Linked DNA regions of Homo sapiens: region 2 is linked to region 1. The links are contacts of gene promoters, found by promoter capture Hi-C in human tissues and cell types (Jung and others, 2019). All regions are on one chromosome and are shown on one strand. Each heading gives the region's core, a stretch centred on a gene start or on the middle of the fragment in contact. The rest is flanking DNA. Distances are from core to core; before and after follow the strand shown.

Region 1 (7,563 bases), core at 2,319-4,818:
AAAATACAAAAAATTAGCTGGGCGTGGTGGTGGGCGCCTGTAGTCCCAGCTACTCGGGAGGCTGAGGCAGGAGAATGGTGTGAACCCGGGAGGGAGAGCTTGCAGTGAGCCGAGATTGCACCACTGCACTCCAGCCTGGGCAACAGAGCAAGACTCCATCTCAAAAAAAAAAAAAAAAAAGAAGAAACTTGTTTAATTATTTTGTTGAGCACAAAGTCCAAATTCTCTGTTACTTAAATATATCAAAATAGGAAGAAAGCCATTGAGTCAGGCCCAAGGATCAAACACACAACTCCACTGTCCACTTTTCAACGTGGTGTGTCAACGCTGGCCTCATCCTGCAGCCGCGGTGACGGTGAGCCTCGGCGGTGCTCTGTTCTGATTTTGTCAACTCTGCCGATGTGGTTTCCTTTCTATATGGCTCACAGGTTTGTGAAGCTGCAGAACTTGGGCTAAAAACCTGGGATTGATGTGGGGATCCTGCATCATTTTTCCGTAGGTTGAAGGGAACAAGTTAAAAGGAAGATGCAAGTCATCAGAATGAACAAGCCAACAAGAGGACAGAGACTCCAGAAACCTGGGGAACTACAGATTCTCGGGTCCAGCCTGGGGGTAGTCTAAAAGGAAAATCACACAGAACTTACCTAAGAAAGTCCAGGTGAACGGTGAAAACTCCTGCTCCCATGATTAAGTAGAAACTAGGAGAAAACATTAATAAGTGACTGGCAGGTGACTGATGATGTGGGGTGATTCTCAGAGTATGAACAGTGACCTGAGTTCAGTCCCAGATGATACTCAGAGTGATGGCAGAGGGGATTTCTGGAAGTCACTGCATCAACAAAGAGATATTTGACTAAACTTATGCTTGGCATATTGAGATGGGAAAATAGCTGACAAAAAGTTTTCTGGCTAAACATGAATTAGCCAGAAATAATAACTAAATTATATCATTTCTATAATGAAAATAAAATCCTTTTGCAGTTTTAGCATAGTAAAATAAATAAAAAGGAAGCCAATACTCATGATAAAGCATTTTGCTAATGGCCTAAGAGGGAAAGTTAGTTTAGAAATGTGAAAACAGCTGGAGTCTTTGGTAATTAGTTTCTCTTGCTGTTCTTTATTGTAACTTTCATCAGTGACAGGCATTTAAATTCTGAATGCATAAGCCACATTTTAGAATGGGCCCTGCATCACTTTTTAATTAAAAAAAAAAACAAAAAAACCTACATTTCCAAGAGAGGGGAACTTCTTCCTGCATCCTAGAGGAACTCTCTGGAAAGTATAGAGCTGATCACTTCCTGTCTTAACTTTGAACTGAGTGAATTACTTTTCTATCCTTTCTAACATGACAGCTCTCTGGCATTCCTGCCAGTAATAACTTTCTTGGAGACTTACAAATAAAAGACAGACATAACTCTTTCCCAGTGTTTTAAATAAATGTATTGTTTTTCTCCATAAAAATGGAACCTGATTATCTCTCCAAACTCCATTTCTAGAATTTTGAGAAACTAAAATTTGGCATTCAGGACACATGAGCTCCTCCAGATTTGAAAGGGGTTTCAAAGGCTCCAAACCTGCCTCATCTGTCAGAGTTTTGGACAAATGCATTTCATTTATCTTCCTAGAGTTCCCAGAGGATTCTGGAGTTGCTACATGAAAGACGTGTTGGGATTCTTGAATACAAGGCACGGAGGGCCAAGGATTTTCTTCTGTTCTCCATATTGCCAGAGGAAGTGACATGGATTTGCCAGTATTGCAGGTTTTAACATCTGCATTCTGTTTATGATTTTGTTGCTTAGGAGATCTGGCTAAGACATTTGGCCCCTTTGACTTTTGTTCCTCATCTGTAGAATGGGAATAATTAAGTCTGCTTCTTGTCTGCCATTCTTGCAGCGGACGATGGTGGATAAATGAACATGCTTTCAAACTTTTGAGTTCTGACGAGCAGTACTCTCAACAAAGTGGAAAGTGAAAAACAGGTTCTTTAGTAGCAAATACTTCTTAAAGGAAGTATGTCAGCTTCGAGTGTAAATTTTATTCTTTGGATAATCTTAGAATTAGTGGTATGTAGTGTTTATTTTCTTTTTACTTTAATTTTCACTGCAGTTCCCTAACAGTGATTCCTATTTACTTAATCATTTGCAGCTGCTCTGCTCACCTGTTTTTCTGGACCCAGGAGCAGTCCCTCAAGAGTTTTATTATAATTTCCTTCTAAGTCCTTAAACCAGGAGGAATGTGTTTAAGTGCTTAATAGATTCCCTGGGCTTTGGAATTTTAAGGAGAATTCTGAGAGTAGCCCTCCTTCAGGAAAAGGTGCATTTCTTTCCCGTCTTTCCGTGGCCCGACGGACATCACTTTCCTGATAAAATTGTGTGGGAAAGGTTGCAATAGCATTGCCTTTGCCTCAGCAGCCAGTCCCAGAACTTGCTGATACAGCCCCCTCCCCCAAAGTTCATAGCCAAAGCAGTGGGCTAGACATCGGATGAAACCTCAGATTTGGATTTTCTGTGTTTTGTGCTTTTCCCAATGCCCCTGACAAGTCAATTGATTCATTGTTCTTGAACAAATCTTCACTCTTCTGGCTTTCTGTGTGAGACAGAATTAGGGCTTTTTCCTGTAAAGTTATAAGCCAAGGCTAAACTATGTCAGCAATGTTGTCTGCAGTGGATATTATCCAGAGTCTGGGTGTGCAAAAATTTCCTGGTTTCCAACGTAGTCTTCGTGGGTGAGTTTACAACCTCCACAAGCCCTGTGCTCCCCGCACAAACACCTGAAATGCTTTGACAGAGCTGTTTAAAAACAGCCACATGTGTCTGTGAATGATGCCCAACCACATGCTCCCCCGACTTGAGAGGATCAAGGCTACAGCCCAGGTCAGACCCCGGATCTTTAGGACCTAAATTCCCCCATCCCTGCAGTGGATAACCCCGTGTAAAGATGCCAAAGGCGGGCTGCCCCCGGCGCAGCCTTTCCTGGACATGTGTTCCCAGCTGCCTTTGCTGGAGCGCCGCTGATCCTTCAGCACCTCTGAGAGGCAATGTTCTGGGCTGGACCAGGGGGCCTTAGAGGGCAGAGGTCAAGGAGAACCCCGGAGTCTGGGGACCGGCCAAGGCTTGGCGTTAACCTTTGTGGATGAAAAGTCCCGCTGGGCTGATCCTGCGCGGACCGGGCCTGGACCCTGGGGCGTGAGGAGGGCGCGGTGCGTCCCGTGGTTGTGCTTGGAAGCCCCCCGAGGGTGCGCGCGCGTGGGTATGAGTGCGTGCGTGTGCCTGGGTGTGCGTGTGTGTAAGTGTGCACGTGTGTGTGTGAGAGTGCGCGCGGGGAAGGAGGCACAGAGACAGCCCGGACAGGCCACTGCGCAGCCCTGGTGGCCCCCGCTCCACCTCTCGCTCCGCAGACCCGCGCCAGGGAGGCCTCTGGGCCGCAGCGGGCACCGGAGCGGAGCGGGCGCGGCAGCGGGCGCTGGGAGGTGGGGCTGGGGGAGGAGAGGGGGAGGGAGAGAGGCGGGCGGGAGGGGAGGATCCGGGAAGCTCCGGGGTATTTGACAGGAGCGAGGGCGGACGCAAAGAACGCGGAGGACCTCTGGGTGCCTGCAGGGGAGCTGCTCCAGCCGGGCCGCCGGGAGCGGTGGGGAGAGCATCGCGGAGCCGCCCCTCCACGCGCCCGCCCAGCCGCGCTCGCCCACTGGGCTCTCCCGGCTGCAGTGCCAGGGCGCAGGACGCGGCCGATCTCCCGCTCCCGCCACCTCCGCCACCATGCTGCTCCCCCAGCTCTGCTGGCTGCCGCTGCTCGCTGGGCTGCTCCCGCCGGTGCCCGCTCAGAAGTTCTCGGCGCTCACGGTAAGCCCGGGCCCGCGGGACCTGGAGCTCAAGTGGTGCCGCCTCTTGCAGCCGGCCGGGTTCGGGTCCCCGCGCCCCGCTCCAGGCCCAGGCGCCTGGGCACGGGGAGCAGGTGGCCCCGGGGGCCGTGGAGCCTTCGCCTGCCGGCGAGGCTGGAGCAGGTAGGACGCAGCGTGCGCGCCTGGGACCCGGCTGGGATGGGCTTCTGGGGACCCTGCCCGCCGGGGTCCTGCTGCGGCTGCGACGGGCTCCTCGGGTTCCACCCGGCTGGGACCCCACCTGCCTCGGGGGCTCTGACCCGGCTGTGAGAGGATCCTGGGGTCCTGCAGACCCCGGACAAGTGGGAGCTGCGGGTGCGCTCGGGTGTCCCGCACTCACTGCTGGGCCTGAGCCTGTGGGGAACCAGGTCTGGGAGCGCCGGCGCCGCCCCGCGGACTGTCCCAAGGCCAAGACAGACCCGCCGGGACTGGGCGCCCACCTCGCCCACGGGGACCCGGCCTGGAGCGTGTTCTCCCGACCGCTTTGGGCTCGTGCGCCGCGCGGATCCCGGGCCTCTCGCCGGCTGAAGGGGCTGCCAGTCGTGGGCCCCACTCGTGGGTCTGACTCTCCCAGAGACCCTCGTAAGTGAGCCGAGGAAGAAGCAGATGAGGTTACAGATGATTCTTCACGGGCCTGAGTGTTATTAGAGAAGCGCTTTCTTCCCTTCTCAGGACAGAACTGGAGGCAGGCGGCGGCTCCCCGCTCTGCGGGGCCTCTGGGTTCTTCCTCGTGGCAGGGATGCTGCGCTCCTGAGCGCGAGGGTCACCGCGGTTGACCGCTGTGTGTTTTTCTTTCTGAGCTGTAACTTCTATGCGACAGCCTTGGCCCGGCCAACGCACGCGGTGTCAAACGAGGAGCTATGTAGAGGGGGCTGAGCCAAGCCCCCGCCGGCCAAGCCAACCCGCGGCGGCCGCTGGGCCAAGGCCGGGTGTCTGCAGCCCCCAGCTCCAGCCGTCCTCCTGGGCTTGCAGGGTTTGCAAACCCATCATTAATGCAATCGCCAGAAACGAAAACATTCCACTTAAATGTGTTTTTGAACAAGTGTTTGAGAAAACACGAAGGTAGTGAGAACGCCTCTGGTGGACAGCCGTCTTTTTTAAGTGGCCGGGGACTTGTCCTAAAGGTGTTTATTGTATTGAAAATAAAGATGGTTGAAATAAGCTGTGGTCGGTTCTGCCTTTCAGCAAATTTAAAACAGTCATGTGGGCATCTTTTCTTTTTCTTTTTCTTTTTCTTCGTCTTCTTTCTTTTGCGTTTTAGCAGTGTGAAGGATGGTTTGTGAGTTCATTGCTCATACCTCAAATTCTTCTGCAGCAGCCCGGGGTCCCTGCCTTGTGTCTCACAAATGACTTGTAGATTAGAAACTGCTAACTGGGGCTCCAAGGAGGTTTTCACACACTCAGGCTTTCCCTGAAGATCCTTTATCTCCCCAGAGGGGGCCCTCAGAGGATACTCACTGGAGGCATTCATGTATATGCACATCTGTACATGCATCTAGACATAAATATACTCACGTATACACTCACAAAAAGACCCCCCACATACTCTTAAAGCACACTAGAGGAGACAGAGAAACTAAGGCCAATTCTCCAAAGGAGATCATAGCATTTTCTTCCAGGACTGTAGCAGCAGGTACCTACAGTTGCCACGGATTTTCAGATTTTCTGAAAGCGCAAAAAGTAGAGACTGCCATCTGCCTGCTGCCCTGTGTGTGTGGGGGGTGGGGTTGGGCCTGTTGGTCCCCCCTGGAAGAGCAGAATCAAGGTAGTTAGTAATTAGAACAGTTTAAGACTCGGCAGGTTTTCTTGTCTTCTCTCCCCTGTCTCATCTAACTATTTACTTGAACCCTCTCACCTTTTGCCCCCTTGAGGTTGCCCCAAGGATGTCTTGGGTTGCGGTGAGACCCGCTGCATGTGGGGTCTCTGTGCAGGAGCTGATACCCCACGTGGGCTTTGCCCTGTTGGCTGCATTCCCCAAGAACAGTTTGCCTGAAATTTACATTTGCAAATAAAATCAGTATCCCGAAGAAAAGATTAAAGCCATAACACATTTTGGCACACTTCTTCTCACCCCACCCCCAGTCTAGAAAATCAAGAAGTAGTTGAGTTACAAAGTAACTGAGGCAGGCCTGAAATCTGACTGGTCGCTGGGAGATGTGAGATGTGCAGGATTTTTCAGTGTGCTCATCTCTTTTCAAATTGCCTTCTGGTTTTTGGAAATCTCTTTTGTCTCCGGAGGCCCTCATTCAAAGAAGGGCCTTCTCTCCCTACGATTTGCATCCTACCTACTTTAATAAATCAAGAGGCAGTATCAGTCCATGCAGTGGGTGGGACCCACAGCTTAGGGTCTTGCTGGATGTGTGACTTCAGGCAAGTTACTTAATTTCATAATCTTCAGTCCCCTTATCTGTAAAATGAGAATACATAATCTCTTTCAAGCATGTGGTGAGGATTAAAGGTAGGGCTTTTAATGCGCCTACTATATGTGAGTTCTCCAGCTAACATTGTTTTGATGGTGCCCATGCCGTGGGTCCGTATAAGAGAGTGCTATCAATTGATACCGTAATTATCAATGCATATAGCGTTGTGGCATTAAGGTGTGTGTGGATTCAACTTTGCAGTATTTTCACCTGCCGCAGATTCTCAGAGCACACCACTTGGCTCTGGGTGTATCTGTGGACTTTGTGGGAGTAGCCATGTGGGACTCTATAGACCAAGGAGGAAAGCTTGCCTCTCTGCCTCCTTCTACTCCATTCATTTCTTCTCATCTAGAAGCAGGGAAATATGTCAGCCTCTCTGGGGCTTTCAGTTTGCCATACCTGGCTTCTCAGGACCACGCATTTGTCTTACTCACCTATGGTGAGTGTGCTTTCTTGGTGGGTCCAGCATTGCTGGTGTGCTCACCTCTGCTACTTTATGTTTAAGATTCAGAGAATCCACTTTGTCTGGTAATGATCTCTCTTCTTTCCACCAAAGTCATTCTTTAGAAATGGCACCATGAGGCCCTCTGTGTCTCTCATTGTGACTTTCTGATGGCTTTGCACAACTTCCTGGTTATTGCTCAGACCCTCTCACCTCCAGTCAACAATGGCATTCTTAAGTGTGTCCAATGCGCTCTTAATTTGGATGCAGGTCAATTTCTTCCTTGAAGAAGGAGGTACATTGAATGCCACACCGTGCCCATTTTCCTTTTTATTTCTGTGAATGACTGAGATGAGGGAATGATCTCTAGTATAAATGGTTTTTATTACACATAATTCTGTTTTCAAAGAGCAAACAGGCGTGATCACAATTACTCAACTTTATCATGGTTGTCATTATATGAATTTTGATGGACTGATCCATAAGCCCATACCTAGGTGATTTCTTTAAAGGCAGAGAGAAGAACAATATTGCCTGGGACCCCTTTCCCAGAAGTTTTTGGTTAGAGCCAAAGTATTCATTCCCATGTTGACTAAATCATATTTTGCTCACACTTAGAATGTTGAAGTCACATTACCATCCTTCTCAGACTTCTCTTACTGCCAATACCTAACGCTCCCCTAAGGTCATACGCACGACTTCGTTAAAGGTACCGTTGTCTCCACATTCAAGAGATGAGGAAACTGAAGTTTTGAGAGACTCTGAAGGGCACCTGGTCACTAAGCAGATCCGAATATTTCTCAAGTCATCCTGCCATTATTTTT
Region 2 (7,563 bases), core at 2,881-5,380, 740 kb before region 1:
ATGTGAGAAGTCTCCCCCCAGCTGCAGCCACAGGGACCACTTCTTCCTGCTGACAAAACCAAGATTGTGTTCAAATTCCTACCCATCCTCGCACCCTCTCATCTTGTGGGGTTTCCTCCCCCAGCTGCAGGGAGGCCAGCTGGATTAGCCTGACTGGCTGGTCCCCAGCCTGGCACACATCAGAAACATCTGGGGACCTGGCTTCAAGTGGACTGCAGGGCCCACTCCGAGCTCTGTGGTGCGGGGGCTGCGGTTCTAACACGCTGTGCTCTGGCAGAGCCACAGCCATGCAGCTCAGCGCCTGACGGTGCCTCCTCTGAGGAAAGTGCTGGGTCCTGGGTGAGGACGGGGCTCACATCAGCCCAGTCGGGCTAGAGAGAAGGACTCAGGTTCCCCGTGGCTGGGGCTGAGTCCTGTCTCTGACACCACCCAAAGCTTCTTCTCATCTCTGACTGCAGGAGCCAGCCTGGGGACAAAGCTGGCCCTGGGACAGCAAGGGTGGGGAGAGGAGCCCAGCCTGATGCCACGGCTCAGCCCTGGCTCATCCCCCTCCCACGGTGACACCCGCCCTGTGCTTCCTGCTTCCTGGTGTGTGAAGTAAGACATTTCCTCTTTTCTTTTAAAAGCAGCTTGAGTCAGAGTTTCTGTCTCTTGTAGCTGAAAGCACCACCTATTTCCTTTCATGGCTAAAATCCATTTACCCGCAGTCCTAGAACCAAAAAATCCAGCACACGACCGCTGGAGGAAACTGGAGTCAGCCACAGACCTTCCTCCGCACCTCGCGGTGGAGGGGACCCTGGATGAGGGGCCATCCCCAGGGAGCTTCCAGGAGCCTGTGTCTTCGGGAACAGAGCGCCAGTCAGGGTCATAAACCCTCATGTTTTTGTTTTAAGTTGTCCTTCAGAACCATTAGTACAAGGAAATGTTATCTTCTAGGCCTATTAGGAGATTAGGGGGAAAAAAGTACTGTATTTTAAAAGAAAGTACTGCAGGTCCGTGATTTGGTAGTTACTTTTACTTAAGAAAAAATGTTATACTGAGTTTTTAAGTTGAAAAGTGAATTAACTTAAAAAAGTATAAGGTAAATAATGCTGTATGTGGTAAGAAAATACAGCTAAAATTATGGTGATGGAAAAAAAGACTAAAGTTGGAGAATTGTAGAGCATGAATATCACATCATAGATGATTGTGTGTCCCCTGTGGAAATGAGACTAGGGGCTCCCAAATAAGGAGCTGTGGAGAGCAGTGCGAATGCATCTCGCCTCGCCTTTACCTATCCCAGAGTCAGTGTGAGGAAGTGACTCGCAAAATACTCTCAGCACTCAGGAGAAAAGAGTCACACACAAAACATGCAGGCGAAGATGGCCTCAGGTTTCCACTGTGCAGTGCTGGGCACCAGAGCCCGATGAACAGCAGAGTCCAGGGAGGAGGGAAAATGTGGTCCTCAGGGCCCAGCACAGGCAAATCTTCCTCCCTGTGTAGACAGGCTTGTATGTTTGACATCGCGTTCTTGCCTGCTGGTCAATAGAGAGAACTTAATCAAAAGCGTAGGAATTATGTCAAATATGCAAGAGCATACAAAGTATACACCTTCCTGGGAAAATGAACTGCAAAATACATTCAGTCAACTGAGATAAGAAGCAAAGATTAGCTCAAAAATGTAAAAGTCCCGCTATAGAAATGTTGGCCAAGTCCCCAGAGACTGGTTAAAATAAGTGGCATAAGAAATTTCTACACATAAAAATTAGCCGGGCGTGGTGGCGGGCGCCTGTAGTCCCAGCTACTCGGGAGGCTGAGGCAGGAGAATAGCTTGAACCTGGGAGGCGGAGGTTGCAGTGAGCTGAGATCACATCATTGCACTCCAGCCTGGGTGACAGAGCGAGAATCCATCTGAGAGAGAGAGAGAGAGAGAGAGAGAGAGAGGCAGGGAGGGAGGGAGAGAGAGACAGAGAGAGAGAAAAGGAAGAAGGGAGGAAGGGAGGAAGGAAACTTCAAAATCTATTTATGATACTCAGTTCCTATAAAATCTACAAAATAAAAATTTGGCTAAAGAAACGATCAGGAACAGGAACCCCGGATTAAATGAGTGCAAGGCCAGACGGGGAGCACGGGAGCGTGAGGAGAGTAAATGTCCTTCCGCGGCCTTTCTCCCAAAACACACACACACACCGCGTCTCATGGAGTGGTATTTCACAAATACGTTAGGTAATTATTTTGAAAAGCTTAAACATACACAGTCGTGTAACTTTAAATAAGCTGTGTGATGTTGTAAAATGACAAAGATAGTGACGGCAGAGAATATAGCCCATTCACAAATGCCAGAGTAAGATATGCCACATGGTACCCTAAAGAAAAAAGACTCAAAAAAAGATGCATGATGTGGAAAATAAGCTCTTCGGTTCGAGAGTATGTTTGATTCATGCTCTCCAATTCTCAAGCTTTAGTAACTGTTTTCTATCACCATACTTTTAACTATGTTTTCTTACCACATACAGTGTTATTTACCTTATGCTTTTTTTAAGTTGACTCACTTTTCAACTTAAAAACTCAGCATAGCATTTTTCTTAAGTAAAAATAATTACCAAAGCATGGGCCTGCAGTACTTTCTTTTAAAATATAGTACTTTTTTCCCCTAATATCCATTAAAATCAAACTATTCTGCATGCATTACCTGAAATGATTTCTCAAAACACCAATGATATGTCTTCCACACCTGGGAAACACTTGTCAAGCACTTAATAAATAGTACTTGATAAGTTTAACTTATTTGCTTTCTATTTATCATAGATCACAAAGAACAATGATGGCCGGGCACCATGGCTCATGCCTGTAATCCCAGCACTTTGGGAGACTGAGGTGGGTGGATCATTTGAGGTCAGGAGTTCAAGACCAGCCTGGCCGAATGGTGAAACCCCACCTCTACTAAAAATACAAAAATTATCCAGGCAGTAGTGGCGCACACCTGTAATCCCAGCTACTTGAGAGGCTGAGGCAGGAGAATTGCTTGAGCCCGGGAGGTGGAGGTTGCAGTAAGCCGAGATCACGCCACTGCCTGGGTGACAGAGTGAGACCCTGTCTCAATTAAAAAAAAAAAAAAAAGAAAAAGAAAAAAGGAAAACCATGGTTTTAGCAATTATGAGGCTTTTGAAATTTAAAGCTTTAAAAGCAGAGCCGACAATCAACCATTAAGAAGAGTAAGATGCTAAAAATTCACACACAAACACTTATACTGAAATATAGTCAGGTGTCACCTAATGATGGGGATCCATTCTGAGAAATGCATCATTAGGCAATTTCATCAGAGTGCACCGACACACACCTGGGCGGAGCAGCCTGCTACACACCTGGGCTGCGTGGTGGAGCCTGTTGCTCCAGGGCTGCAGACCTGTGCCCTATGTGACTGTGGGGAATACTGTGGGCAACTGAAATACAATGGTAAGTATTCGTGTATCTAAACATAAGAAAGGGACAATAGAAAATACAGTATCAAAGATTAAAAATGCTGCACCTGTTTAGGGCACTTAGCATGAATGGGGCTTGTAGAACGGGAAGTTGCTCTGGGTGAGTCAGTGAGTGTGTGGAGCGTGAATCTGAAGGCCCAGGTCGTGACCATAACTACTGCAGGCTTTATAAACACTGTACACTTAGGATATATTAAATTTATGCAAAATAGTTTTCTTTTCGAAATAGTAGATTAACCTTAGATTACTGTAACTTTTTTATGTTATAAACTTAAATTTTTTTAACTTTTTGACTCTTTTATAACACTTTGCTTAAAACACAAACACATTATACAGCTGTACAAAATTATTTTCTTTCTTTATATTCTCATTCTATAAGCTTTTTTCTATTTTTTCATTTTTTTTTTTAACTTTTAAAATGTTTCTGTTAAAAACAAAGAGGCAAACACACAGTGGCCTAGGCCCACACAGGGTCAGGGTCCTCGGTGTCACTGTCTTCCCCCCAACATCTGGTCCCACTGGAAGGTCTGCAGGGGCAATGACACGCACAGAGCCGTCACCTCCTGTGATGACAATGCCTTCTTCTGGACACCTCCCACAGGACCTGCCTGCAGCTGCTTTACAATTAACTTGTTTTTCTAATTAGTAGGAGGAGTACACTCTAAAATAACAATAAAATGTATAGTATAGCACGCATCATCATTATCAAGTAGAATGTGCTATGCACAACTGTACGAGCTATACGTTTATACAACTGGTAACGCAGTAGGTTTGCCTATACCAGCATCACCGCAAACGCGTGAGAAATGCATTGTGCAATGACATCACAAGGCAGTAGAAGTCTTCCAGCTCCACGATCATCTCAGAGGCCCACCGTTGTCTGTGCCATCCATCATGGACTGAAACGTTGCTAAGCGACTCACGACTACACAAAGAATAAGAGCCTCACTGCTTCCTTCTGTTGCCTGCTGGACCCCCCATTGAGTGTGTGGTCAAGGGCGCACTCCACGGTGAGTATGGGTCATCACTGCACAGTGTGTGTGTGGCCATGGACCCACTCCACGGTGTGTGTGTAACCATGGAGCCCTCCACAGGGCGTATGTGGCCAGTGAGGAAGGCAGGCATGGTTCAGCTCCTGAAGGCCTGGGCTTAGCTCTCAAGGAACCGGGCTTGGACACATTTGGCCTGTGGAGGGCTGACCCTCAGCTCCTGCCTCACACTGCCCCCATGCTCCACTGTCGGCAGCCTTTGAAGACATTTCAGGCCCCATGTCTGCCAATCTCCCAGGGCCATGTCCCAGCCACGCCAGCCTCCTCTGTTTCTGAGCAAACCAGGCTCCTCCAGCCTCAGGCCCTGAGTGTTCCACGCTGTTGGTAGCTGCCCCCACCCATGCGATTCCTCCCTTCTAGGATGGTCTCATGCAGGTGTCTCTGTCTCCCACACAGCCCAAATGCCCAGGGAGGGCTGAGCCTCTCTCAGTGGAGGGAGCCAGCCTCTGGAAGGCAGCCCCAGCTCCCGGCTCGGACGCTGACTCAGCCCTGGGAGGGGAGGGGGTTCCAGGGAAACTCCTCCCAGTTCGGGAGAGACACTTCCCAGCTCCGGAGAGACTCCTCCCAGCTCCGGAGAGACTCCTCCCAGTTCCGGAGAGACTCCTCCCAGCTCCAGAGAGACACCTCCCAGTTCCGGAGAGACTCCTCCCAGCTCCGGAGAGACTCCTCCCAGTTCCGGAGAGACTCCTCCCAGCTCCGGAGAGACTCCTCAAAGCTCTGGAGAGACTCCTCCCAGTTCTGGAGAGACACCTCCCAGTTCCGGAGCAACTCCTCCCAGTTCTGGAGAGACTCCTCCCAGTTCCGGAGAGACTCCTCCCAGTTCCGGAGAGACTCCTCCCAGTTCCGGAGAGACTCCTCCCAGCTCCGGAGAGACTCCTCCCAGTTCCGGAGAGACTCCTCCCAGTTCTGGAGAGACTCCTCCTCATTCCAGAGAGACTCCTCCCAGCTCCGGAGAGACTCCTCCCAGCTCCAGAGAGACTCCTCCCAGCTCCGGAGAGACACCTCCCAGTTCCAGAGAGACTCCTCCCAGCTCCAGGAACGTGTCTGAACGTGGTTGGCTTGTTTTCCTCTGGCCACTGCCAGGACCCTGGGCGAAGGTTTGGCCAGCAGTGGAAGACATAGCACAGTGGCCCCAGCAGACTCCACGGTCAGCACAGAGCTCCTGCCCGGGGTCAGCCTGAGGCCCACCCTCCTCTGGCAGCTGTCGCTGGACCTGCTGCTTCAGACCACTGTACTCCAAGCTCCTGGTTTTACTGCCAAATGTGCAGCACCAAGACAGCTTGAAATACTCTTTCACTGGTCTTGATGAGAATTCACCCTTCTTGAAGTGAATTCCTTCTCTTTCTTTTCACGTGGTAGGTCCAATGTCTCCTCCTCAGAGTGGCCTTCTCTGAATCCTCTTTATTTCTGTCCCTCACAGGGAAAGCCCTGTTTATTTTGTGTCTCCACCACCCATACAGAGAAGAAAGGTCTTGAGAGGGGTGTTTGGTAGGGCCTCTCTGACCACAGCATCCTCAGAGCCCCTGAACTAGAGCTGGCCCAGGAAGGACCAAACCAGAAATCTACTTTTTCTTCTTTGTTATTTCTTTATTTAATATTAATTGCAAACAAATTTGTAATTACAAGCATGCTAAAAAATCTTTTATTAAGAGGCACATACACACTTTGCAGCTTCCAGGTGTCTGAGTTTATTGGTTACATTTTTCAAAAGGCCATCACACGACCCTGGAGAGAAGCCCCCAGCTGCCGAGCAGCAGTAGGAGGAGGGCGAGGCCACAGGACGGCACGCGGGAGGCGCCAGCCGCAGAGAACACGCACAAGCCTGACGGCTGGAGCAGCACCACGTGCATTTCCTTAAAGAACGGAGGTGCAGATCCGGGCAGGGCGAGCTCAGGGTTGGTTAGTTCAGGAGCTCTGCGCGTCTCAGGCAGCCAGGACCCTGGGTCGAGAGAGGCTGCGATGGTCCCACCGTCACATTCAGATCTGACCATGGCCAGTGGAAGAGGAAGAGATGTGTCCTCTTGGGCTGTTTTCTCAGGGACTAGCAAACTTTGCTCGGGCCCTGTCCACCCACGTTCCCACAAATATCAATGCCAGAATTGGGCCACACAAGCCTCCCGTGCTGGTGCCTGCGGCTGGCGGAGACAGACACGCACCACAGCAGGTGAGCACCATGCGACTGGAGTTAAAATGAAAACACCTTTCTTCTAGAAGCATGAAGGAAACATTTCAAATGATGACGCTTTGTGCTGCTGATGGTGAGTGAAACAGAACTCTCCATCCATGGGATGTGGGCACACGACCCAGCCCCAGCTTCCTAGAAGGCAGCGGGATGGGTACAGGACGGGGACGCTGCCACCTGCCTTTGGCCCAGGACTCCCATCTCTAAGAATACATCTTAAGGAAAGAAGTAAAGTGCATATGAGCAAAAATATTATGTACTGATATGTTCATTGCATTAATATTTTAAAAATTCAAATATCCAAAATTGGAATGCTTATACAAATTTTGAACTATACAAATAACCCAATATTTACATGCTATTACACTGATATTTAAGAAGAGTGTTCATTAAAATGAAAAACAAACTTTTACCATTAAATGAAAAAAATTACATACCGTATAATGTCTACACTTGAAAAAGGAGTATATAGAAAAATAAAGGCACCCCTGCCAAGTGTTAATAATAGTTTTCTCTGCAGGGTAGGCTTCCGGGTGATTTTCTGTATTTACACATTTTTAGCCCTCTAAATATTCTATAGTGAGGGCGTCTGTAGTTGCTATTGTTTCCATTATCAGTTATCTATTGCCACAGTGGTAACCACAAGAAACAACCACAAACCTCTGTGCACGTAACCACCACCACTGGCGCCTGCTCACCGTCGAGGTGGTGTTGGGGCAGGGCTGCTCTCTGAGCTGGGGCGGAGGAGAATGAATGCATCTGCTCAGCCGGCTCGGCTGGGTGGCTTCACCTAGCTTTGCCGAGCCCCCTCCCACGCCAGCTGGGCCCCGCAGAGACTCTCAGGGCCCCAGGCAGATGCTCGTGACAGTAC

What was found. Contacts are between HindIII fragments. The study calls those that stand out against the background at their distance.
Region 2: a contact is called between a fragment that was not itself captured here and the fragment with the promoter of SMOC2 in region 1, in 1 of the 25 tissues and cell types used here (adrenal gland).

What each region holds. Positions count from the first base shown.
Region 1 is chr6:168,437,616-168,445,178 of GRCh38, forward strand. SMOC2 (SPARC related modular calcium binding 2) reads left to right here and starts at 3,569. Exons shown (of 13, transcript NM_001166412.2): 1 at 3,569-3,839. The coding sequence starts at 3,756. The HindIII fragment of the contact is 15,076 bases long and covers 1-7,563 here.
Region 2 is chr6:167,699,063-167,706,625 of GRCh38, forward strand. No RefSeq gene overlaps it. Among named protein-coding and RNA genes, the nearest start is that of LINC02487, 6.6 kb to the left of the region's middle. RefSeq lists enhancers at 237-316, 457-606, 4,221-4,762. The HindIII fragment of the contact is 5,604 bases long and covers 1,329-6,932 here.